Regions from separate parts of the Homo sapiens genome. Here regions 1 and 3 are each linked to region 2. Evidence: promoter capture Hi-C in human tissues and cell types (Jung and others, 2019). All regions are on one chromosome and are shown on one strand. The core of a region is centred on a gene start or on the middle of the fragment in contact, and the rest is flanking DNA. Distances in the headings are between cores, read along the strand shown. Region 1 overlaps TANGO6 (transport and golgi organization 6 homolog). Region 2 holds the start of ZFP90 (ZFP90 zinc finger protein). Region 3 overlaps UTP4 (UTP4 small subunit processome component).

Region 1 (4,299 bases), core at 674-3,173, 530 kb before region 2:
ATTACAGGCACATGCCACACCTAGCTTTTTTTTTTTTTTTTTTTTAGTACAGACAGGGTTTTGCAATGTTGGTCAGGCTGGTCTTGAACTCCTGACCTCATGTGATCTGCCCGCCTCGGCCTCCCAAAGTGCTGGGATTACAGGCATGAGCCACCGTGCCTGGCCCACTACTTTATTTTCTTAATAAACTTGCTTTTACTTTGCAATGTGGACTCGCCCTGAATTCTTTCTTGCGCGAGATCCAAGATCCCTTTCTTGGGGTCTGGAATGGAGACCCCTTTCCTTGTAACAGTTGTATTTAGAAATTCAATATTCTATAGAAACAAGAGATGAAGCAAACAAAGATCAAAAAGAAAGAAGGCTACATTCCACACAATCCTATCAACCACCAATTGTGACTCCCTTTGTGGTTGAGAAATAAATAAGAGGCACAAAGACAAAAACAGAGGAATAACACGCAAGTTATACACCGAAATAATAAGACAGGTGAAGACAGGGGAAAGAGGTGAACTGGAGCTGGTGGCTGGAGATTGTCCTGGCAGAAAAAAAGATTCTCTAGATTGAGGTCCAGAAGAGAAGACTCCAGAATCCGACTAGTTCTGTTTAAAAACATGTTGGAATAAGCATTAGGTGTGGTATGAATCTGTCAGAAAGCAACAGTCCAACTTCTAAGCACCTTCATCTTGCCCAAGATGTGATTTTGTGGCTAAGAGATGTGAGAGGGAACAGATGAGACTATTACGGGGCAGAGAGTCAAGAATTGTCAGTAGAGAACAACTCAGCAAAATTTCCCACATTGTGTGCAGGAGACTAGGCTAAGTATTCTGCTGAATGGCTCCCACACCCAGGAGCTCACACCCTGTTGGGGAGGCAGACACACAGAATTAAGCCTAATGGTCAGGAGGCAGGCAAACTGAGTGAAGTGGACCCTAGAGCTCCCAATTATTAGCTAGGGAATCTTGAACAAACTACTTCACTTCTAGGAACCCCAGTGATCTCGTCTATAAAATGGGAATAAGTTTGCCTCCTGAAGGTTGCAATAAGAATTAATGTATCTAAAGATCCAAAAACATGGCTGGGTACGGTGGCTCATGCCTGTAATCCCAGCACTGTGGCAGGCTGAGGCGGGTGGATCACCTGAGGTCAGGAGTTCGAGACCAGCCTGGCCAACATGGCAAAACCCCTTCTCTACTAAAAATAGGAAAAAAATTACCTGGGCGTGGTGGCGGGCACCTGTAATCCCAGCTACACGGGAGGCTGAGGCAGAAGAATTGCTTGAATCTGGGAGGCGGAGGTTGCAGTGAGCCAAGATGGCGTCACCGCACTCCAGCCTGGGCGACAAGAGCGAGACTCCATCTCAAAACAACAACAAAAACAAAGATCCAAGCACAAGGAATTGCAAATGGTGGGTGCTAAAGAAGTGATGGTTTGTCAGTGAAGACTGTGACCTCTGTGAGGGCCAGGACTATGTCCATCCTGTAACTCTTACATCACTGAGGCCTGGAAGAGAGCCTAACATGCAGTAAATCTTTGAAGAATGAATGAATGGCAACGGTAGCTAATCCTTACATAGTACTTGGTATATGCCAGGTATGATTCCAGGCATTTTGTCTACATTAACTCAATCCCCACAACACAATTATCATTTCCAATTTGCCCAGGTTCACACAGCTAGTAATGGGTAGATCCAGGATTCAAACCCTGGTAGCCTGACTCCAGAGTAGTGTTCTTTATTAATCACTATACTGTACCGTCTCTCAAAGCGGTTTTTATTATGACTATTACTATTATTGAGACAGAGTCTCTCTGTACCCAGGCTGGGGTACAGTGGCACGATCATAGCTCACTGCATGCAGCCTTGAAGCTCAGGTGATCCTCCTGCCTCAGGCTCCCAAGCAGTTGGGACTATAGGTGTGCATCACCATGCTCAGGTAATTTTTTTTTTTTCAAGACAAGAGTCTTGCTCTGTTGCCCAGGCTGGAGTGCAGTGGTGTGATCTTGGCTCACCGCAACCTCTGCCTCCCAGATTCAAGCAATTCTTCTGCCTCAGCCTCCCGAGTAGCTGGGACTACAGGCATGTGCCACCATGCCTGGCTAATTTTTGTATTTTTAGTAGAGATGGGGTTTATTTTCTTTTTTTTTTTTTTTTTTTGAGACAGAGTTTCACTCTTGTTGTCCAGGCTGGAGTGCAGTGGTGCAATCTTGGCTCACCACAACCTCCGCCTCCTGGGTTCAAGCAATTCTCCTGCCTCAGCCTCCCGAGTAGCTGGGATTACAGTCATGTGCCACCACACCCAGCTAATTTTGTATTTTTAGTAGAGACAGGGTTTCTCCATGTTGGTCAGGCTGGTCTTGAACTCCCAACTTCAAGTGATCCGCCCGCCTCGGCCTCCCAAAGTGCTGGGATTAGAGGCATGAGCCACTGTGCCCGGCCAGTAGAGACAGGGTTTCACCATGTTGCCCAGGCTGGTCTCCAACTCCTGACCTCATGATCCGCCCGCCTTGGCCTCCCAAAGTGCTGGGATTATAGGCGTGTGCCACGGCGCCCAGCGTTTTTTTTTTTTTTTTTTTGAGATGGAGTTTTGCTCTTGTTGCCTAGGCTGGAGTTCAGTGGCGCAATCTTGGCTCACTGCAACCTTCACCTCCCAGGTCTCCAGGTTCAAGCGATTCTCCTGCCTCAGCCTCCTGAGTAGCTGGGATTACAGGCACCCGCCAACACGCCTGGCTAATTTTTTGTATTTTTAGTAGAGATGGGGTTTCACCATGTTGGCCAGGATGGTCTCGAATGCCTGACCTCAGGTGATCCACCCGTCTTGGCCTCCCAAAGTGCTGGGATAACAGGCATGAGCCACCGTGCCCAGCCTCAGCTAATAAAAAAAAAATTTTTTTTGTAGGCCAGGCACAGTAGCTCATACCTATGATCCCGGCACTTCGGGAGGTAAAGGTGAGAGGATTGCTTGAGCCCAGGAGTTTGAGGCCAGCCTGAGCAACACAGCAAGACCCTTTGTCTACAAGAAATAATAGAATTAGTCGGGCATGGTGTCACGCATTTGTGGTCCCAGCTACTTGGGAAGCTGAGGAGGGAAGATCACTTGAGCCTGGGTGGTTGAGGCTATACTGAGCCGTGATTGCACCACTGCATTCCAGCCAGGGTAACGAAGCAAGAAAGACCCTATCTCAAAAACAAAAACAAATTTTTTGTAGAGACGGGGTCTTGATATTTTGCCGAGGCTTGTCTTAAACTCCTGGCCTCAAGCAATCCCCCCACCTCAGCCTCTCAAAGTGGTTATTATTTTCACTACCATGGAGTGGGAGGCATAAGGCACATATAACCACCTACCTTACGAGTATATTGTGGGGATCAAAAAAGATAATGTATGTGAGAGTATTTCACTATCATCAGCAAAGTGATAAATAATTCAAAGTATTGTTATTATTACCACCACATTAAGAAAATTGGGTTTACCACCAAGGAATAAGAATAGGAGGGGAAGTCCGGGCGCGGTGGCTTATGCCTGTAATCCCAGCACTTTGGGAGGCCAAGGTGGGCAGATCACTTTAGGTCAGGAGTTCAAGACCAGCCTGGCCAACATGGTGAAACCCTGTCTCTACTAAAAATACAAAAAAACTAGCCGGGCATTGTGGTGTGTGCCTGTAATCCCAGCTACTTGGGAAGCTGAGGCCAGAGAACTGCTTGAACCTGGGAGGCAGAGGTTGCAGCGAGCCAAGATCACGCCATTGCACTCCAACCTGGGCAACAGAGCGAGACGCCATCTCAAAATAAATAAATAAATAAACAAATGAATGAATGAATGAATAGGAGGGGGAAAGGCACAGCTCTGAAAACAAAGACTAGAGAGGAGAAGCCAAAGGCAGAGTGGCTGGGCAGATGAATAAATGAAGGCGAGTGAGAGGAAGAGGGAGGTGGCGTAGATGCGGGGAAATGAATTTAATGTAGTCTGAACACAGTATCAGGCCAGCGCAGGTCAGATGATGTTGGTAGCTGGCACACTGGAAGCTCTGATCAAGCTATGCTGCAGAATGGAAAGCATCAGGAAGAATTCTGCCGGGGAAGCAGAAAGGGGCCAGACTCCAAGGTCTTTGAGGCGAGTGGCCTCTCTAAGATAATGGGCAGGAAACAAATAAATTGGGGAAGCAGAATGGACACAGACAATCTGGACCTCATTCAGGAGCTCTGGACTGAAGAAGAATAATGCTTTCCTGATAAAACCCAAACTTTCACTTTGATGGGTCTATGAAAAAGAAATTAGGGCCAATTCAAACCTGAAAGACCAGGCT
Region 2 (4,198 bases), core at 1,372-3,871:
ATAGCTTGAAAAGTCAAGTTTACAGTGGTCCTTAAAATTCACTGCTCAGAACATGAATCCACTTTCACCACTAAAAAGGTATCCTCCCACTATGGAAAAGACCAGAGTCCCTGATGAGGTGTTAAGTCATCTAATTCTCACAAGCCTATGGAGGATACTTTGCATGTAAAGGGGATAACGATCATGATGTGCTCTGGCTCTCCTCAAACCAAGTAACTGTCTTGTTTTAGTATTGGCAGGTGTCTTACTCCTTAAGGCTCATCCCTGTAAAAACAGAAACATATAATAAGAAGTATATATATATATAAAAACGCAGGCCGGGCCCGGTGGCTCACGCCTGTAATCCCAGAACTTTGGGAGGTCAGGAGATCGAGACCATCCTGGCCAACATGGTGAAACCCCATCTTTACTAAAAATACAAAAATTAGCTGGGCATGGTGGCACATGCCCAGCTGTGGTGGCTCACACCTGTAATCCCAACACTTTGGGAGGCTGAAGCGAGCACATCACTTGAGCTTAGGAATTCAAATCCAGCCTGGAGAAACCCCATCTTTACAAAAAAAAACAAAAATTAGGCCAGGCGTGGTGGCTCACATCTGTAATCCCAGCACCTTGGGAGGCCAACGTGGGCGGATCAATTGACGTCAGGAGTTCGAGACCAGACTGGCCAACATGGTAAAACCCTGACTCTACTAAAATACAAAAAAATTAGCCGGGTGTGGTGGTGTACACCTGTTAATCCCAGCTACTAGGGAGGTTGAGGCAGGAGAATCACTTGAACCCAGGAGGTGGAGGTTGCAGTGAGCCGAGATCATGCCACTACACTTCAGCCTGGGTGACAGAATGAGACTGTCTCAAAAAATAAAATAAACCAAAAAATACAAAAATTAGCCGGGCATGGTGGCGTGCACCATGGCAGAGGTTGCAGTGAGCCAAGATCATGTCACTGTACTCCAGACTGGGTGACAAGAGACCCTGTTTCAAAAAAAAAAAAAAAAAAGGCATGATGTATTGTATGCTTAATTCACTATAAACTGCTCTTTTAAAGGACATTACTAAGTTGGTGTTTTTATCTTTTAAATTTTTTTTTTTTTTTTTTTTTTGCAGAGACGGAGTCTCACTATGTTGCCCAGGCTGGTCTCAAATTCCTGGGCTTAAACGATCCTATTGCCTCAGCTTCCCAAAGTGCTGGACTTACAGGTGTGACCCACTGTACCTGGCAACTTGGTATTTTTATTTGAATTGATCTTGATGTCTCACACACCTAGCAACTACAATCTGTCATTTTCCCTTAATTCTAAAGAGAATGTAGATTCAAAGATACAGATACCATCTGGATCTTGATGTATTTTCACCAATATGTAAATCAATGGATAACCTTAGAGTTGTGACGCTTCTAGAAAATGCCCCCTCTGCCACAAGAATAAATGGGTTCACGAATCAGCCTCACATTAAGGTGAAGGCTGGACTTCTGGCGGTGGGGAGTGAGTTGCTCTATTACATTTTTGTTAAAGCAGAAAAGGACAGACACAAAAAGCTCTGGGAGAATCAGCCCTGGTTTTATTTTTGGTTGTTTTTTATTTTGTTTTGTTTTTGCCTCCTTGCCCAAGAAAGCCCATCTCCAGCCTCTTCCTAGACATGTTCTAACCAGGCTTCTACGGCCCCTTACGGACTCTCTATGGGCCCTGGGTCAGAAGCTGGGGCTCCTCTCTCCACACTTGCCGACAGTCACTTCCTCCTCTACAGTGTTCCATCCTGTGACCCCACTCTCTCCATTTCTTATTGACAAGAGTTCAAAAAACTGGCGTGGCATTCAGGACTCTCAAAACTGACACTTCCCAACGCATCCAATCTCAACTCCTCCCACAAGATCGCACCACACTGGCCCTCTCTACCCCACAGAGCAGCCTCCCCTTTGGGAATCCAGCTCCCCAAAGCCTGGGGTTTTCCATGGCCAGGAGGCTCCGATCGAGCCAAGCAAGTAAGGGAGTCGCCAGGCAGAGAACAATGACTGCTCCAAACACCCTTGGGAGATGGGATGGATAGATGGATGGGATGCCCAGGAGGTTAGGAACGCGTTGCTCACCTGGGGCGCGGCGGTCGGAGGCCTCGGGGCCATTCCTGCCTCGCCAGGGCCCGGCTCCGGGGCAGGAGCTGGGGAGAAAGGACAGGGCCCACTCACCCCGCTGCAACACCGACCCCACCCCGCCCCGCCCCGCCCCACCTCCGCCCCTAAACCACATCTCCAGGGGAGATGGTGGCGAGGACCGTGGAACCAGCCCGGGCCTGCCGCTCCCCATCCCCGAAATGAAAGGCTCAGCGGCCTCCCGGACACCCCCCTCCGGCCACGCCCAGTCCCCTTCGCAGGGTGGTGGGCGAGGCCCGGCTGACACCCGCCAAACCCAGGAGGGGTCCCGCCCAGACCCGCGCACTCAGAATCACCGCCTCTGGGGGGCTCCGGATTTCGCGACCTCCGGCCCACCCAGAGCCTCGGGCAGCTCCTCCCGCCCCCGCCGAAGCCTCGGTTATCTCCAATTCTGATCTGCGGAGGGGCTGCCCAAAGGGGCCTCAGCCGCACCGGGGTCGGACAATGGCCGCAGCGGTGGGGCAGAACTGGAAGTGCGCCTGCGCACTCGGAGCCTCGCTCCTGCAACCCCGGGTCCACGCCGGGCGCGCGAACTACACTTCCCAGAGGCCCGCGCGCGCAGGCCCCGCCTAGGCGGCTTCCGAAGGCGCGTTAGGGACCCTTGCGAGGGCCGAGGGAGGCGGCCAGTGTGGCTCGAGTGTGCGTGTCCCTGTATTCCAGTCACTGTCCGCCTCCTCTTTGCAAGGGGCTTGTTGCTAGCTGGGGAATCGGCCGGGAAAGACCCTGGTTTCGGGGAGCAATCGTACGCCCCTTTCGACGAGGCTGACGATAAAAACGCAAACATGTCAACAAGATAATGTCAGGTCCTGACTTCAGCGGTAAGAGTGACACAGGAAGGGAGTGAGACAGCGTCAGAGGGTGGGGCATTTACATCTTCTTCAAAAGGCAATTTTCCATTTCTCATTTTAGAGAAAAAAGAAACTTCGGACAAATCCGTGGCCTCCTGAGCAATGTGCAAAGGCAGATCTACTGCCGTGTTATTTCATTACTTCGTATCCCCTTACGCAGGATTTTGTTTGGGACAAGCAAACAATGATGGAAATTTTCTTTTTTTTTTTTGAGACACAGTTTCGCTCTTGTTGCCTAGGTTGGAGTGCAATGGCGCGATTTTGGCTCACCGCAGCCTCCGCCTCCTGGGTTCAAGCGATTCTCCCGCCTCAGCCTCCCGAGTAGCTGGGATTACAGGCATGCGATGCGTCACCAGGCCCGTCTAATTTTGTATATTTAGTAGAGACAGGTTTTCTCCATGTTGGTCATGCTGGTCTCGAACTCGCCTCGGCCTCCCAAAGTGCTGGGATTACAGGCATGGGCAACCGCGCCCGGCCCGATGGAAATTTTCAACACAAAGATAGGTCAACTTTTAGATACAGCTATTACGTTTATGTAATTATGTCTTATATATCACAGACATTCAGGCTACATTTCCTAGATTTCAGCTTGATTTCTTAACATTAGAGCATTGCATACCAACATGGTAGAAAATGACTGCAACGAAATGTTCCTGATGTCACACTGCTTTATCAAAAATATGAACATTCAAAAATAAATGCTTTATGCCGGGTGCGGTGGCTCAAGCCTGTGATCCCAGCACTTTGGGAGGCTGAGGCTGGCGGATCACCTGAGGTCAGGAGTTCGAGACCAGCCTGACCAACATGGAGATAGCTCGTCTCTACTAAAAATACAAAATTAGCCAGGCTTGGTGGCGCATGCCTGTAATCCCAGCTACTCAGAAAGCTGAGGCAGGAGAATCGCTTGAATCTGGGAGGCAGAGGTTGTGGTGAGCCGAGATTGCACCATTGCACTCCAACCTGGGCAACAACAGCAAAACTCCATCTCAAAAAAAACAAAACAAAAAAGGGAGAAAATTTCCATCACTGTTGGCTTGTCCCAAACACAAAATCCTGCGCAAGGGGCTAACAAGTAATGAAATAACACGTCAATAGCACAGGGAGGCTGAGGAGGGAGGAGCCCAGGAATTAAAAGACCAGCTTGGGCAACATGGCAAAACCCTGTCTCTACAAAAAATACAAACATTAACTGGTTGCAATAGTG
Region 3 (4,491 bases), core at 513-3,012, 620 kb before region 2:
GCCTAGGCATGGATTTTTATGTACAATTGCAAAGCATGTGCACGCTACACACAAACACTCTTTAAATGCCAGGCAAGGCTCAAAGACAAGTGCTCAGTACATGCTCCTACCATAATGCAACAAAGGTTACACTATGCAGTTAACAGGTAAACCCATTAAGTGTTGCAGTTTGATGTTATTCTATACACTTTTAATGCTTATTCCAAGTTTTGGGTAGTTCGAATCTGATTCTTATAATGAAGATGAGGACTTGTAAGGGATCACTAATGACTCAATTTATGACTGACAGCGTCATTACTGATTAGTGAAAAATGTTTTCCCAGTATTCCTTTTTCGAAGTTTTGATTATGTTTACCTTGAGATTACAAGGCAAGCCATGAAAGGAACTCTTATTATCTGCAACTATTTGTCTGTGTATATCAGAATTTTCCTCCCGAAAATACAGAAAGAACCTGGATGTGTTTACATCACCCACAGATCATTAATTTCAAATTTCCAGGTATGAATGGGTTTCACTGTTTCCATTAGCTGCTTTTAATGTTACACAGTATAGCTTCCGGGTTCCATAAAAATAAAACAGGATTCCAAACCTGGAAAAATTATTAGTTAAAAAGAAAAAAGTCTGGCCAGGCGCGGTGGCTCATGCCTGTAATCCTAGCACTTTGGGAGGCCGAGGTGGGCGGATTGCCTGAGCTCAGGAGTTCAAGGTCAGCCTGAGCAACACGGTGAAACCCTGTCTCTATTAAAATACAAAAATTAGCCAGGTGTGGAGGCACACACCTGTAATCCCAGCTACTCAGGAGGCTGAGACAGGAGAATCATTTGAACCCGGGAGGCTGAGGTTGCAGTGAGCCGAGATCGCGCCACTGCACTCTAGCCTGGGTGACAGAGTAAGACTTTGTCTCAAAAAAAAAAAAAAAAGAAAAGAAAAGAAAATAAAAAGAAAAAAGTCTAATAAATTTCCAGGTCATGCCAATCTGCCTTGAATCTTGTAACTGCAGGGTGAACTGGCTCCTGTACAATGATTCAAACTGCTGCCATGAAACCCTATGCTCACCTTTAGCTGTTTTACGTTGTAGACATGGACTCCAGCACTGGTACCTGATGCAGCTAGCCAATTCCCATCTGGACTGACTGCCAAAAGACACATGGCCTCCACTGTTCCTGTGAGGACAAAACAGTTACATCTCTGAATTCACACAGTGTCCACAGCCAGACCTGCCCTGGAGATGATGGCAAAAGCCAAGGAGACCATTAGAGTTTTAAATCACTGCCAGGATAATTTGCTGATCACTGTGCAAATTACTTCTAGATGTTAATGTTTCTACTTTTTTCATCTACTTATTTAACCATCCCGCCTGTAAAGAAGGTCCAGAGAGATAAAACAGAAGTTATTACTTCCTCAGGCCTAAGACACTGCTTACTACAGGAATAGAGAATGACGGCAGCATCTGCCACTAAAATATATACTTTAATTGTTTCAAACTCCTTTCCTACCAAATGGTTTTTTTTCTGTTTTTTGTTTTTTTTTTTTTGAGATGGAGTCTAGCTCTGTCACTCGGGCTGGAGTGCAGTGGCGGATCCGCTCACTCCAACCTCCAACTCCCAAATTCAAGTGATTCACCCGCCTCAGCCTCCTGACTAGCTGGGATTACAGGCACCCACCACCATGCCTGGCTAATTTTTGTATTTTTAGTAGAGATGGGGTTTCACCATGTTGGCTGGGCTGGTCTTGAACTCCTGACCTCAGATGATCCGCCCACCTTGGCCTCCCAAAGTGCTGGGATTACAGGCGTGAGCCACCGTGCCTGGCCTCTTTCTTTTTTCTTTTTTTAGACGGAGTCTCACTCTGTTGTCAGGCTGGAGTGCAGTGGTGCAATCTCGGCTCACTGCAACCTCTGCCTCTCGGGTTCAAGCCATTCTCCTGCCTCAGCCTCCCAAGTAGCTGGGACTACAGGCGTGCACCACCACACCCAGCTAATTTTTGTATATTTAGTAGAGATGGGGTTTCACCATTTTGGTCAGCATGGTCTCGATCTCTTGACCTTATGATCTGCCCACCTCGGCCTCCAAAAGTGCTGGGAGGTGTGAGCCACTGTGCCCGGCCCCTAAATTTTTTTTAAGCCAAAATTATGGACAGGCCAGGCGTGGTAGCTCACACCTGTAATCCCAGCACTTTGGGAGGCAGAGGTAGGTGGATTACCTGAGGTCAGGAGTTCAAGACCAGCCTGGCCAAGATGGTGAAACCCCATCTCTACTAAGAGTACAAAAAAAAAATAGCTGGGCGTGGTTGTGGGTGCCTGTAATCCCAGCTACTAGGGAGGCTGAGGCAGGAGAATCACTTGAACCTGGGAGGCAAAGGTTGCAGTGAGCCGAGATGGCACCAATGCACTCCAGCCTGGGCACAAGAAACTCTGTCTTTTGAAATTCTATCTCAAAAATAAATAAATTAATAATAAAAAAAAAAGTTACGGACAAACAGCAAGTTCAATAGACTTGAAGCATATCTTTAATTTATTGGATGCCTGCTGTGTATTTAGCACTAAGGGAGGATGGGCACGTCTGAGCCATCTTTGTCATCTAGAGACTTTAAACCAATCTGGCAACACGACAACTAGTGTGGGATAAAAATTGGACAGTGATGCTCTATGCCAAAATGCGTGCTGCATGTAACGCCCCCAAACGATAACATGGCTTTATAACAAGCATAACCCAGCTGCCAAAGGATGGGTGGGGATGAGGAAAAAAGGATGGGGAACAGTGCAAGCTAAGTGACGAGGAGTAGAATATGCAGGTTTGAGAGCTGTGAAGAAACCATTTTGACTACAAGGGGAAGTGAGATGAGAGAAGTGGAAAAAATAAAGTCATATACATAATGTAGAGTCGAATCTCAAGGAGAGCTAGATATAAGATAAATAGCCTAAGTTTTGTAATAAAAACATATATAGATAATAAATAGTTTGATTTATCTGACCCCTAACTTGTGGGTTTCTTCTCCTGTAGGCTTCTGGATCAGCTTATGAACAGTGAGAGTTGAAGATAAAAGAGTTGACTTTCACTAGGCATGGTGACTCACACCTGTAATCCTAGCACTTTGGGAGGCTGAGGCAGGAGGATTGCTTCAGCCCAGGAGTTTAAGACCAGGATGGGCAACATGGTGAAACCCTGTCTCTACAAAAATACAAAACTTAGCTGGGTGTGGTGGTATGCTCCTGTGTACTTGGGAGGCTGAGGTGGAAGGATTTTCTGAGCCTGGGGAGGGTGAGGCTGCAGTGAGCCATGATCGCACCACTGCACTCCAGCCTCGGCAACAGAGTGAGGCCATCTCAAAAAAAAAAAAAAAAAAAAAAAAAAAAAAGAGTTGACTTTCCAGGCTGATGGGAGTGTAAATGACAGTGAAGCAGCAGCTAAAATCCAGGACAAGGGAGAGGTGAAAGGCCCATAGGAAGTATCAAAACAACTACCAGCTTAATCTGGAAACTGAGTCCAAGTCCTTAACAGTTAGCCATAGCTAGCTACATAGCCACACTCATTCATTAATACTCACATTCTCAATGAAAACAGAAAAATTCTCAGGAACATTATATGAACACAGGTAATTAAACTGTATGTATAAGAATACTTTTGGGCCAGGCACAGTGGCTCATGCCTATAATCTCAGCTGGGAGGGCAGGATGGGAGGATCACTTGACCCCAGGAGTTCAAGACCAACTTTGTCAACATAATGAGACCCCGTCTCTACAAAAAAAATGAAAAAATTAGCTGGGCATAGTGGTGAGTGTCTATAGTCCCAGCTACTCAGGATGCTGAGATGGGAAGATAACTTGAGCCCAAGAGGTCGAGGTGGCAGCCATCTATGATTGTACCTTTTTATGAACAAACAACCAAAAAAGGCAACATGCCCACAAAATACTTATATACAAATACATATTAGAAAATACCAAAATATTAATGGTAGCTATTTCTGGGTGTCAGGATTGCAAATGACTTTAACTTTCTTCTTGTTCTGCTAACAAACTAAGGATGATGAAATTTCTCTGGCCCCAAATAAGGAATCAAAAACCCAGTGAGAAAAGAGTAGGTGTGAAGAACATTGCAGATCTCATCGAGAGTCTTCATCTGCCAGCTATCTCCTCCTACTTGAAACAGCAAACATGTGAGTGAGTGTATCTGCAGGGTAGGAGGAACATGAGGGAACCCCCGACATGGAGGCTTAAAAGCAAAAAAGTTACATCTTAGACACGACAAGTCTCCCCATGGCCAGTTACCAGATTCCCACCTGACTGAGGCTGGAAAGCATGCAGGTGCTTGAAGCTTCCTCCTGACAGCTGAACAATATGCAGAGCTCCTTGATTTGATGCTACAAAGAGCTTTGTTGAATCTTCAGAAAACAAAATCTGAAGGGCAGAGCGAAGGAATGCTGGCATTTTGGAAACCTTTGGGTGAACCAATAATAAAAGCCAGTGAGAGAAGGGAGACCTACAGCCCATC

Evidence for each region. The method cuts DNA at HindIII sites, captures the fragments that hold promoters and counts their contacts. A contact is called where the count stands out against the background at its distance.
Region 1: a contact is called between a fragment that was not itself captured here and the fragment with the promoter of ZFP90 in region 2, in 1 of the 25 tissues and cell types used here (neural progenitor cells).
Region 3: a contact is called between a fragment that was not itself captured here and the fragment with the promoter of ZFP90 in region 2, in 3 of the 25 tissues and cell types used here (dorsolateral prefrontal cortex, lymphoblastoid cells and mesenchymal stem cells).

Annotation. Positions count from the first base shown.
Region 1 is chr16:69,065,791-69,070,089 of GRCh38, reverse strand. All of the region lies in intron 17 of TANGO6 (transport and golgi organization 6 homolog), which reads right to left. Among named protein-coding and RNA genes, the nearest start is that of HAS3, 38 kb to the left of the region's middle. The HindIII fragment of the contact is 7,887 bases long and covers 1-4,299 here.
Region 2 is chr16:68,537,714-68,541,911 of GRCh38, reverse strand. It overlaps ZFP90 (ZFP90 zinc finger protein), which reads right to left and starts at 2,621. Exons shown (of 5, transcript NM_001305203.2): 1 at 2,433-2,621; 2 at 2,087-2,154. The coding sequence starts at 2,119. The HindIII fragment of the contact is 20,432 bases long and covers 1-4,198 here.
Region 3 is chr16:69,157,029-69,161,519 of GRCh38, reverse strand. UTP4 (UTP4 small subunit processome component) reads right to left here. Exons shown (of 17, transcript NM_032830.3): 12 at 4,280-4,436; 13 at 1,058-1,164. Among named protein-coding and RNA genes, the nearest start is that of UTP4, 27 kb to the right of the region's middle. The HindIII fragment of the contact is 5,469 bases long and covers 1-4,491 here.